Linked DNA regions of Homo sapiens: regions 1 and 3 are each linked to region 2. Evidence: promoter capture Hi-C in 16 types of primary human blood cells and fetal thymus (Javierre and others, 2016). All regions are on one chromosome and are shown on one strand. Each heading gives the region's core, a stretch centred on a gene start or on the middle of the fragment in contact. The rest is flanking DNA. Distances are from core to core; before and after follow the strand shown.

Region 1 (2,700 bases), core at 165-2,664, 620 kb before region 2:
CAAGGACACATACAAGCCCCTACATCAGTCACAGACCAGGGCCTCCATCTTGCAGGGAATGTGCCCAAATTACAAACAGGTAAACCAAAGTGACTCTGGGCAGATTTAATAGCTCATTTTGGTTTCTTGTTCCAGTTATAACAGACTGCTCTGTGTTTGCTCTATGGCAAAAACTTTTATGTTTGCTTTGCAACAAACGTACAGACAGGGCAAACTGTGTTTGGAGTATGGTGTCTTACCAATGTTTTCTAAAAGCAAGTGAATAGAAATGCTTGCAAAAGTATTTTCAGACCTCAGTGGCCAGCGCTGAACACCGCTGTAGGAATGTCCATCAAACGTTGTGGCCATGCTCCACTCTAACAAAAACCTGGTTCCGTGGCATAATTGTGGGGGCTAATTGTCAGGCTAAGTTTCAGACACCTTCCAAAAAAAATTGCAGGGCTTCCTCAGTCTTTAAACTCCAGATAATATTGTCCAAACTTTGACAACTAACCTGTTATCATGGAGATAGCTCCAAGTTGATGGACTGGCCATTAGAGAATGTCTATCAAGCATCCAGGTAAATGACTTGGTTGCTGCCCTCAAGGAACCCACTTAGAGGCTGTCAGAAAATTTTAAGTATTTTCTTCCTTCTATTGTTCATTCCTAAAATTCTGGCAGTAGGTATGATTATTATTATTCCCATCCCACAGGGGAAGTAATTAAGTCTAACTACTTGAATATTTTGCCCCAAATCACTGACAGTAAGAGACGGCCAGACACTGAAACCTGGAATCTCTAAATGTTTAGATATTGATGGGCACCGCTTAGACCAGGGAGTCCAAACCATAGGCTTGCTGTTCCAGTTTCTCTTATCGGATGAAGGGACCCCCATTTCACCGACGTCATTGACTTTTGGGTTCTCCGCTGACCCCAGATGAGATGCCTGGTACCTCATGGTCAAGTCCCCTCCAACGGGGACTCCTCAGAGGCTTGGTCCCAGTTGCTCAGGCTGCCATCTGCCTCCTCAGGCCAGAGCCCGAGGCGCCGCCAGCGGTCAGGTCCCGGGCCGGCTGCCAGCCACAGGCCCAAGTAAACGCTGAATGAAGGGCAGATGGAGGAACCTGTCCCGGTCGGCCGAAGCGCCGCGGGCGCCTTTCCACTTACGGCGGGCCTGCCCAGCCTCCCGCCCAGCCCGGGCCCGGGTCCCGCCGAGGCAGGTGTGCGTGGCGGACTAGCTCTCGGGCACTCGGCTGGCCCAGCTCCACCCCGAACGCCACCGGGCCAGGCCACGCGCAGACCCGAGCCCGGGGCCCCCGCCTCTGGCTGCCGGCCCGCGCCCGCCGCGCGCCCCGCGTTCACTGCGCGCTCGGCCCCGGTCCCGCCTCCCGGAGGGTTTCGCTTTCGCTTTCCTGCCGATGTCGTTGAGGAAAATGAAAGCGGTCGTGGCCAGGACTGGCGCAGCTGCCGTTTCAGGCGAGGGGCGCAGAATGCAGCGGCCGCCAGCCTGGAGCGCGGGCCCTGGGGCCGCAACCCGCGCCGGGCGAGGTAAGCACAGCCCCTTCGCGGCCGCCTCGCGGGCTCCTCCTTGCGGACCCGGCGGGCCCGACGCCAGGCGTTTGACCCGGGCAGGGTCAGGGGTTCTGCCGTGGGGGCGGGGAGGGCCTGAGAAGCGGCACCCTTGGGTTTCGTGGCTTTGAGCCTCCAGGCCAGGCTGGAAGACCTGGGAGGCCTCAGACAAGCGTGCCAAGGGGCTAGCAGCCCGGGGTCGAGCTGGAACCGTGGCAAGTCGGGCCACCTGAGCACGCCTTTCCCTTTTGTAGAGCACCGACCTCCCTGGGTGTTGGTAAAAATCAAAAGTGGGAGGGTGTACGTAAAATGCTGAACAGAATGCCTAACCTGAGCTCATAATCTACTCCCTCTGACCTGTCAGACTCATTTTTCCCACTGGGCCCCACCCCATACCTCATGTAGTTTGCTTAAGTTTCCTAGATCTGGTGCACCTGGGGGCACTTGGAGTGCCTTCCAAGTGTTCCTTGACCGAGCAAGCTGGCAGCTCATCTCCCTTGATCACGGGCATGGAGAGCAACTAGGCCAGGATGTGGCCCCCTTGCCCTGGCCCTGTCCATGTGAAGTCAGGGCCTTACTCTGCTGGGGCCCCCATCCCGGGGCTAGCATAGATGTCAGGGATAGGTGCACTCACAGACCGAGTCCTTCCCAGACCAGGAAATTTCCAGTCCACTGCATCTGCCAGCAGAAGCATGAAAGATGCGTGCCACCTTGTCTTTGCCCTTCGTCAAGTATAGCCAACTCATTCTTGGTATGCAGGAAGGGGGTTCCACCCCAGGGCTGTGGAAACAGCCCCTGCCCTTAGGGCGTTCCCATCCCCTGAAGAGAGAAAATATGTATTCAAGTTACCCATCAGGCAGGTTGTGTAGAACAAGGACAGGTGAGTGAAAGAGCTAAGAGCTGAGAGTAAAGTGACTAAATCATCAGAAACTTTACATTTAAGTTATGACAGGTTTTGCAGGCCAATACCAAGAATCCCCTTTAACTCAATTTTTGTCTCAATAATAATGAATTCAGCCTAATCACACAGATCTGATCATACGGCCCATTACTGAAACAAAACTTGAATGATCTTTACTTTGAGAAAACCATCTGAATTTGACAAAAGATGGTCTAAGTTCCTAAGTTTCAAAACATGGAGTCCGCCGCTGC
Region 2 (2,700 bases), core at 103-2,602:
AAAAAAAAGCTTTATAAGAAAGGGGTTGCCGCGCGCGGTAGCTCACGCCTGTAATCCCAGCACTTTGGGAGGCCAAGGCGGGCGGATCTCGAGGTCAGGGGATCGAGACCATCCTGGCTAACACGGTGAAACCCCATCTCTACTAAAAATACAAAAAACCAGCCGGGCATGGTGGCGGGCGCCTGTAGTCCCAGCTACTCGGGAGGCTGAGGCAGGGGAACGGCGTGAACCCGGGGGGCGGAGCTTGCAGTGAGCCAAGATTGCACCTCTGCACTCCAGCCTGGGAGACAGAGCAAGACTCCGCCTCAAAAAAAAAAAAAAAAAAAAAAAAAAAAAAGAAAGGGGCATCTGGGGTGACCCTTGCATTATTTGTCAGCTATGAATCTCTTCTGCCACTCTCTCTTGTTCATTAGGCGTAATGGCTATCTTTCAGTTCTGTAAAAAGTAAGTTTCAGGCTCAAAGCAATTATGCCACTATCCGGATGCTCTTTCTCAAAATCCTCGTATGACTGTTCCTTTTTCATCCTTTAAATCTCTGTTCAAATTCCACCTCTTCAGAGATGCCTTTCCAGTCCAACCAACCTAAAGTGGGCCTTTCCCTCTTTCCATCACAACAGCTTACTTCCTTCAAAGCTGTTATCACCAGCTGTATTTACAATTTGTGGTTTATCGACTGTTTCCATCACTAGAATGTAAGCTCTCTGAAAGCAAGGATTTTGTCTTGAACACCTCTATTTATACCCAATGTCTGGCACAGAACGGTAGGAACTAAATAAATTAATATTTATTGAAAGAGAGAATGAGTAGCAAAAGGTGGTAAGATAGCCTGGGAAAGCAATCGGCATTGAAGGCAGGGTGTTCCTAAGGAAGGCGCTAGAATAAGGAAGTAGGAAAAGGCAGCTGGGCTGGACACTGAATAGGAAACTGAAGGTTTACGTCGGCTGGAATAAAGGTGTCGGACCGGGGCTTCAGGGCTCCCCTGTCCACGCGTGGGGTTGGCGGAGGGGCATAAATCACTGAGTGACCAACTGTGGGCGTTCCTTTCAGAGAAACCAAACGCGACAGTTGTCTTCAAACCCCGCTCTGTCCCGTGCCGCAGACTTTACGCGGCTGTCTTCCGCGAAATCGCTAACCCCCGGTCACCAGACTTATCGCCCGGGCCCGAGCCCCCCGGGAGCCAGAAGAGTGTTTGAGAAACGGACATTCTCCGCCGGTCCCAATAGGGGTCCGACACCAGCCCGTTGACGCGCGTTTCCCCGCTCCCAGCCCTCCAGTGGACCCGAACCGGATCCTTACTTACGCTTGTCTCCGGGCTATTAGCCGATGCATGGGAGTCGCCATCTTAGCGCGGTCAAAGCCGGCCGCGCAGGGTTTTGGGAAACTCCTCGGAAGGGCGGGGCTTCCAACCGGGAGGCCGTAGACGTAGGCGGGGCCAGACAGGCTTCTAAGGGGAGGTATCTTAGTGCCGGCTGGTGGGTCGGGAGGGGAGGGGCTGGAGGGTCGGGAGGGGAGGGGCTGGAGGGTCGGGAGGGGAGGGGCTGGAGGGGCTGGAGGGTCGGGACGGGAGGGACTGGTGGGTCGGGAGGGGCCGGTGTCTCCAGTATGGGTCTCGGGTTCTCGGGCCGAACAGGGTTTCAAAGGATGATTACAGGCAAGAACATTATCTGTGGAAAATGAGGACAACATTCTCGAACGAGGGATACACATACAAAGACAAAGAATGAAACTTTGGTGTTCAGAAAACTAGAAGTAGTCTGGAGAATAGAAAGGAATTAGTTGACCAGGATTGAGACCATCAATTGAAAGAATGACTTTAGCAAGCCATGGAGTGCAAACATATACGTTATTTCTGTTTTTTATGTATTTCACAGCGTTGTTACGAGTACTAAATGGGACTGTATAACTAAAGCTGCTTTATCAAGCAGAAAAGGACTATACAAATATTTTAGAATATTTTAGCTGCACCTACATCTAATGTCAGCTCACGGAGCTATTATTCTCTTAAAACCCACGTTCTCTGAAATATATATAATTTTCTGAAGTGTGTGTGTGTTTCTGGGTCATCCATATTTTTTCCTTTTTTTTTTAATTTGAGACAGAGTCTCGCTGTGTCGCCAGGCTGGAGTGCAGTGGCGCGATCTCGGCTCAGTGCAACCTCTGGGTCCCTGGTTCAAGAGATTCTCTTGTCTCACACTCCCGAATAGCTGGGATGACAAGCACGCGCCACCATGCCCAGCTAATTTTTGTATTTTTACTAGAGACAGGGTTTCACCATGTTGGCCAGGATGGTCTCGATCTCCTGACCTCATAATCCGCCCGCCTCGGCCTCCTAAAGTGCTGGGATTACAGGCGTGAGCCACCGCGCCCAGCCATATTTTTTCAATTAATAATTAACACTTAAAATGTTTTAGGAGCTGAGGACAGAGCATTTGAACAAATAAAATCCGTGTACACATGGAACTTTCTACAGACAATGAATGAAGACTATTCTCATGGGCATAAGTACTCTAACGAAAAATATTTCAGAGTAAGGGATTAAAGAGTGATTAGGAGTTAGGGAAGGTGATGATGTGACCTTTGAGCACAACTTGTTCTTCAAAAAAATAGGCTCTTACATGTTGTGTTCTCCAGCTTGATTTTTTCATTCCTCAGTGTACTTATGAAAATGTTTTCCCGGCCAGGCGCAGTGGCTCACGCCTG
Region 3 (2,700 bases), core at 163-2,662, 540 kb before region 2:
GTGGCAGGAAAACCCAAAGAGTTACACTCACTTTATTAATCCAGATGAGCCCCGGGATTTGGTTGGAATTAATCTGCATCTCTAGCCAGGGTCTCATGCGCATCCGAGTGATGGGCATGTTGGCTGTAAAGAGAACACAGAGGCTCCAGTCTGGAATCTGTTGAACAGTACCTGGGCAGTGACCTGCCCCACCCGAGGTCACTTAGTTACCCTCCCCTCACCTCAGCCAGCTGCTAGGTACTACACTCAGTGCGGAGGGGAGCTGCGCTGGAATAAAACTGCTCTCCAAATTTTTTCAGCATCTTAGGCAAAAATGCTTTTGCCCCTTCCTTCAGCCCCTCCCAGCCAGTCTCTGGAGGAGACAGGCATGCAAGTGATGGCTTCAGGATTCATATGCAGGAAAAGAGACAAAATGCACAGATACCCTAATTTCAGAACTTTTCGCTCAAAATTCAAATCCTTTGGGAAGGGAGGGACTTCTTTTGCTTGATGCCAAGAAGAAATTCCCTTGACTTGAGTTGTAACCACTAGCTAGCAAAGGGCTAGCCGTCACCCTGAACAGCCCCCTCCCGCCCCCCTGAATCCATTCTACGCCTTCCTGACAGCCACAGCGCCCACAACGCTAAGACCAGGACGCTAACCCTTCCGGCCCGGTTTCCCCTCCTCTGGAGAAGTGGCCCAAGGAACACCTGTGGCGCCTCTTCCCGCAGTCTCCGTAGGTCACGATTCCCTCCAGCCACCTGGGCAGTAAGCCAGCCCTTGCCACCAGCACAGGGAGCCCAAAACCTGTCGCCTGGGCGCGGAGCTGGGACCGCCGAAAGCCGGGAGCACTGGGCGCCCACGCGTGGGCTGACACTCGGTCCCCGGCACGGCGTGTGGATGCGCGGGACGAACATAGCGGGCCACCTACAGGCCCCTGGCGGCTGCGCGCACGCAGATCTGCGAAAGCTGCCGGGCGCCGGCAGCCTCGTCCGGGTGGGCGGTCCACGCCGCGTCCCGCCCTCCCCGCGCCGCGGCCCGCGGCTCGCAGCTCCTCCGGCGCCCCCCGGAGCCCGCGCGGAGGCCCGGGCAACGCCGCGCGCCGGCGAGTCTCCAGCCTGGAGCTTTCGACCCCCCACTTCCTGGTGCCCCGCGCGCCTTTTATTCGACGCCGCCGGTGCCCCGCGCCTCAAAGGCGTACTCACCTCTGCTGCAGGAGCGATTCGGCGGTCGCGCGCGAGGGTCCCGGCGACGCAGGGGCTGCAGTGAGGGCGCGCGGAGCGCGACTCCGAGTGGAAGAGGGAAGAAGGCAGAGGTTGCCGGGTTCTTAAGGCCGCCGGGCACGGCCGGCGTGGACTGGGCACGGCTCCGGGTGGCCTCGGTTCGGCGGGGCTCGGGCGCACGTCTTGCCTCGACTAAGGAGTGGCGAGCTCTGCCAGGGCAGCGGCGCCACCGAGCAATCCAAACACTTAGCGGGATTCCCCAGCCCTGGCCGGCCCCGCCCCCGGACAGCCGCGCGGGCGCCCATTGGCCGGCTGCGTGCCGTCATTTCGGGGAAATCAGGCTGTTGTAGAGCTAGCGGCGAAGGGGAAGTACAGGGCGGCTGCTCCGCCCCACCCTCTCCGGCCGGGCGCCACCGCCCCGGGGCCACCGCGGGCCCGCCCCGAGCGCTCCCAATCCACCCCTGCTCCGGCTTGCCCGGAGGAGGGCTGCCCGGGACAGCCCAGCGCCCCTGGCCCCAGCCTGTCCTCTCACTCCGCCTTGTCCCAGCCGGCTGGCTCCTGGGGCCATCTTTTCACCCTCCTGGCGGGGCGGGGGCGGGGGTATATCTCCCGAACGCAGGTGAGGGGATCGCCCGGGCACTTGCCGCCCTCTCCAGTGGGAACACTGGGCCGAATCTCCCGACTGGCAGCCTGGCTCCTCAAGCTTGCCAGTGGGATATCAAGAAGGGAGGGTTTCAGTCCTAGCACTACCCCTGTTTTTAGGGGTGACCCCCTCCCTCCAGGTCACTCACCTGCCCTGGGGAAGTGAAGAAGGCAGAAAGCCTACCCTGCCCCGTGTGCTGTCTGGGGCTGCTGGACCAGGGGAAATCCCAACTTGGCCGCTGCTGGCACAGCCCCCAAGGGACGCAGGACCTCTGTTTTTCAACCATAAAATAATAGTAGCCCTACCTTGATGGTTTGCTGTGATGGGAAGAGATTGTAAAGCACTATGCTCCACTCGGGCAACAGACGCTGAGTAGTTTTCAAGGTCGCCGTTGCAGGGTCTAATAGTGACCAGGATGACACCCCACCCCTTTTCGGTCTGCCTCCCTGGGACTCCCCCTGGCTGGCTTTAGGGAACAGAGGAGGAGAAGGGGTTCAGAGAAGCCCAGACGGCTGAGTGAGGGTAGGGGTGGGCTAGCTCTGATCCCTCCTAGCACTCTTGCCTCAGGCCGCCTCCAGAGCCTCCCTGTGGCCCGCGTATGGGAGTTCCGCAATGGAAGCATTGCTGTCATCTCTGAGTCCCCAGGGCTTGGCCCAGAGAGGTTCTGGGCAGCATGGAGGAATTAGCTCAGGGCTGATCAACGCCATGGGGCTAGCCAAAGGGTTGGGGAGCCCAGGTCCCATGCTCCTTGGTAAGGCCCCTACTTAACTCTCGCGCACAACTAGTCCCCGCCCCACGTATAGTCCTAGAGACTTGACTGGGTGTTCATTTTCCATCCAAAACTCTGGCCCAGGA

What was found. The method cuts DNA at HindIII sites, captures the fragments that hold promoters and counts their contacts. A CHiCAGO score of 5 or more calls a contact.
Region 1: a contact is called between the fragment with the promoter of CARINH here and the fragment with the promoter of ZCCHC10 in region 2, in 2 of 17 cell types (neutrophils and monocytes). The highest score is 6.3, in neutrophils.
Region 3: a contact is called between the fragment with the promoter of IRF1 here and the fragment with the promoter of ZCCHC10 in region 2, in 1 of 17 cell types (monocytes). The highest score is 7.2, in monocytes.

The regions. Positions count from the first base shown.
Region 1 is chr5:132,409,515-132,412,214 of GRCh38, forward strand. It overlaps CARINH (colitis associated IRF1 antisense regulator of intestinal homeostasis), which reads left to right and starts at 1,415. Exons shown (of 4, transcript NR_161242.1): 1 at 1,415-1,527. RefSeq lists an enhancer at 764-813 and silencers at 1,054-1,353, 1,424-1,713. The HindIII fragment of the contact is 5,230 bases long and covers 1-2,700 here.
Region 2 is chr5:133,025,197-133,027,896 of GRCh38, forward strand. It overlaps ZCCHC10 (zinc finger CCHC-type containing 10), which reads right to left and starts at 1,353. Exons shown (of 5, transcript NM_001300816.3): 1 at 1,301-1,353. The coding sequence starts at 1,341. RefSeq lists an enhancer at 1,113-1,422 and a silencer at 1,503-1,632. The HindIII fragment of the contact is 6,187 bases long and covers 8-2,700 here.
Region 3 is chr5:132,489,361-132,492,060 of GRCh38, forward strand. IRF1 (interferon regulatory factor 1) reads right to left here and starts at 1,413. Exons shown (of 10, transcript NM_002198.3): 1 at 1,185-1,413; 2 at 32-123. The coding sequence starts at 118. RefSeq lists silencers at 245-294, 825-1,104, 1,365-1,814 and enhancers at 286-933, 1,955-2,094, 2,228-2,700, 2,365-2,574, 2,615-2,664. The HindIII fragment of the contact is 1,939 bases long and covers 1-1,903 here.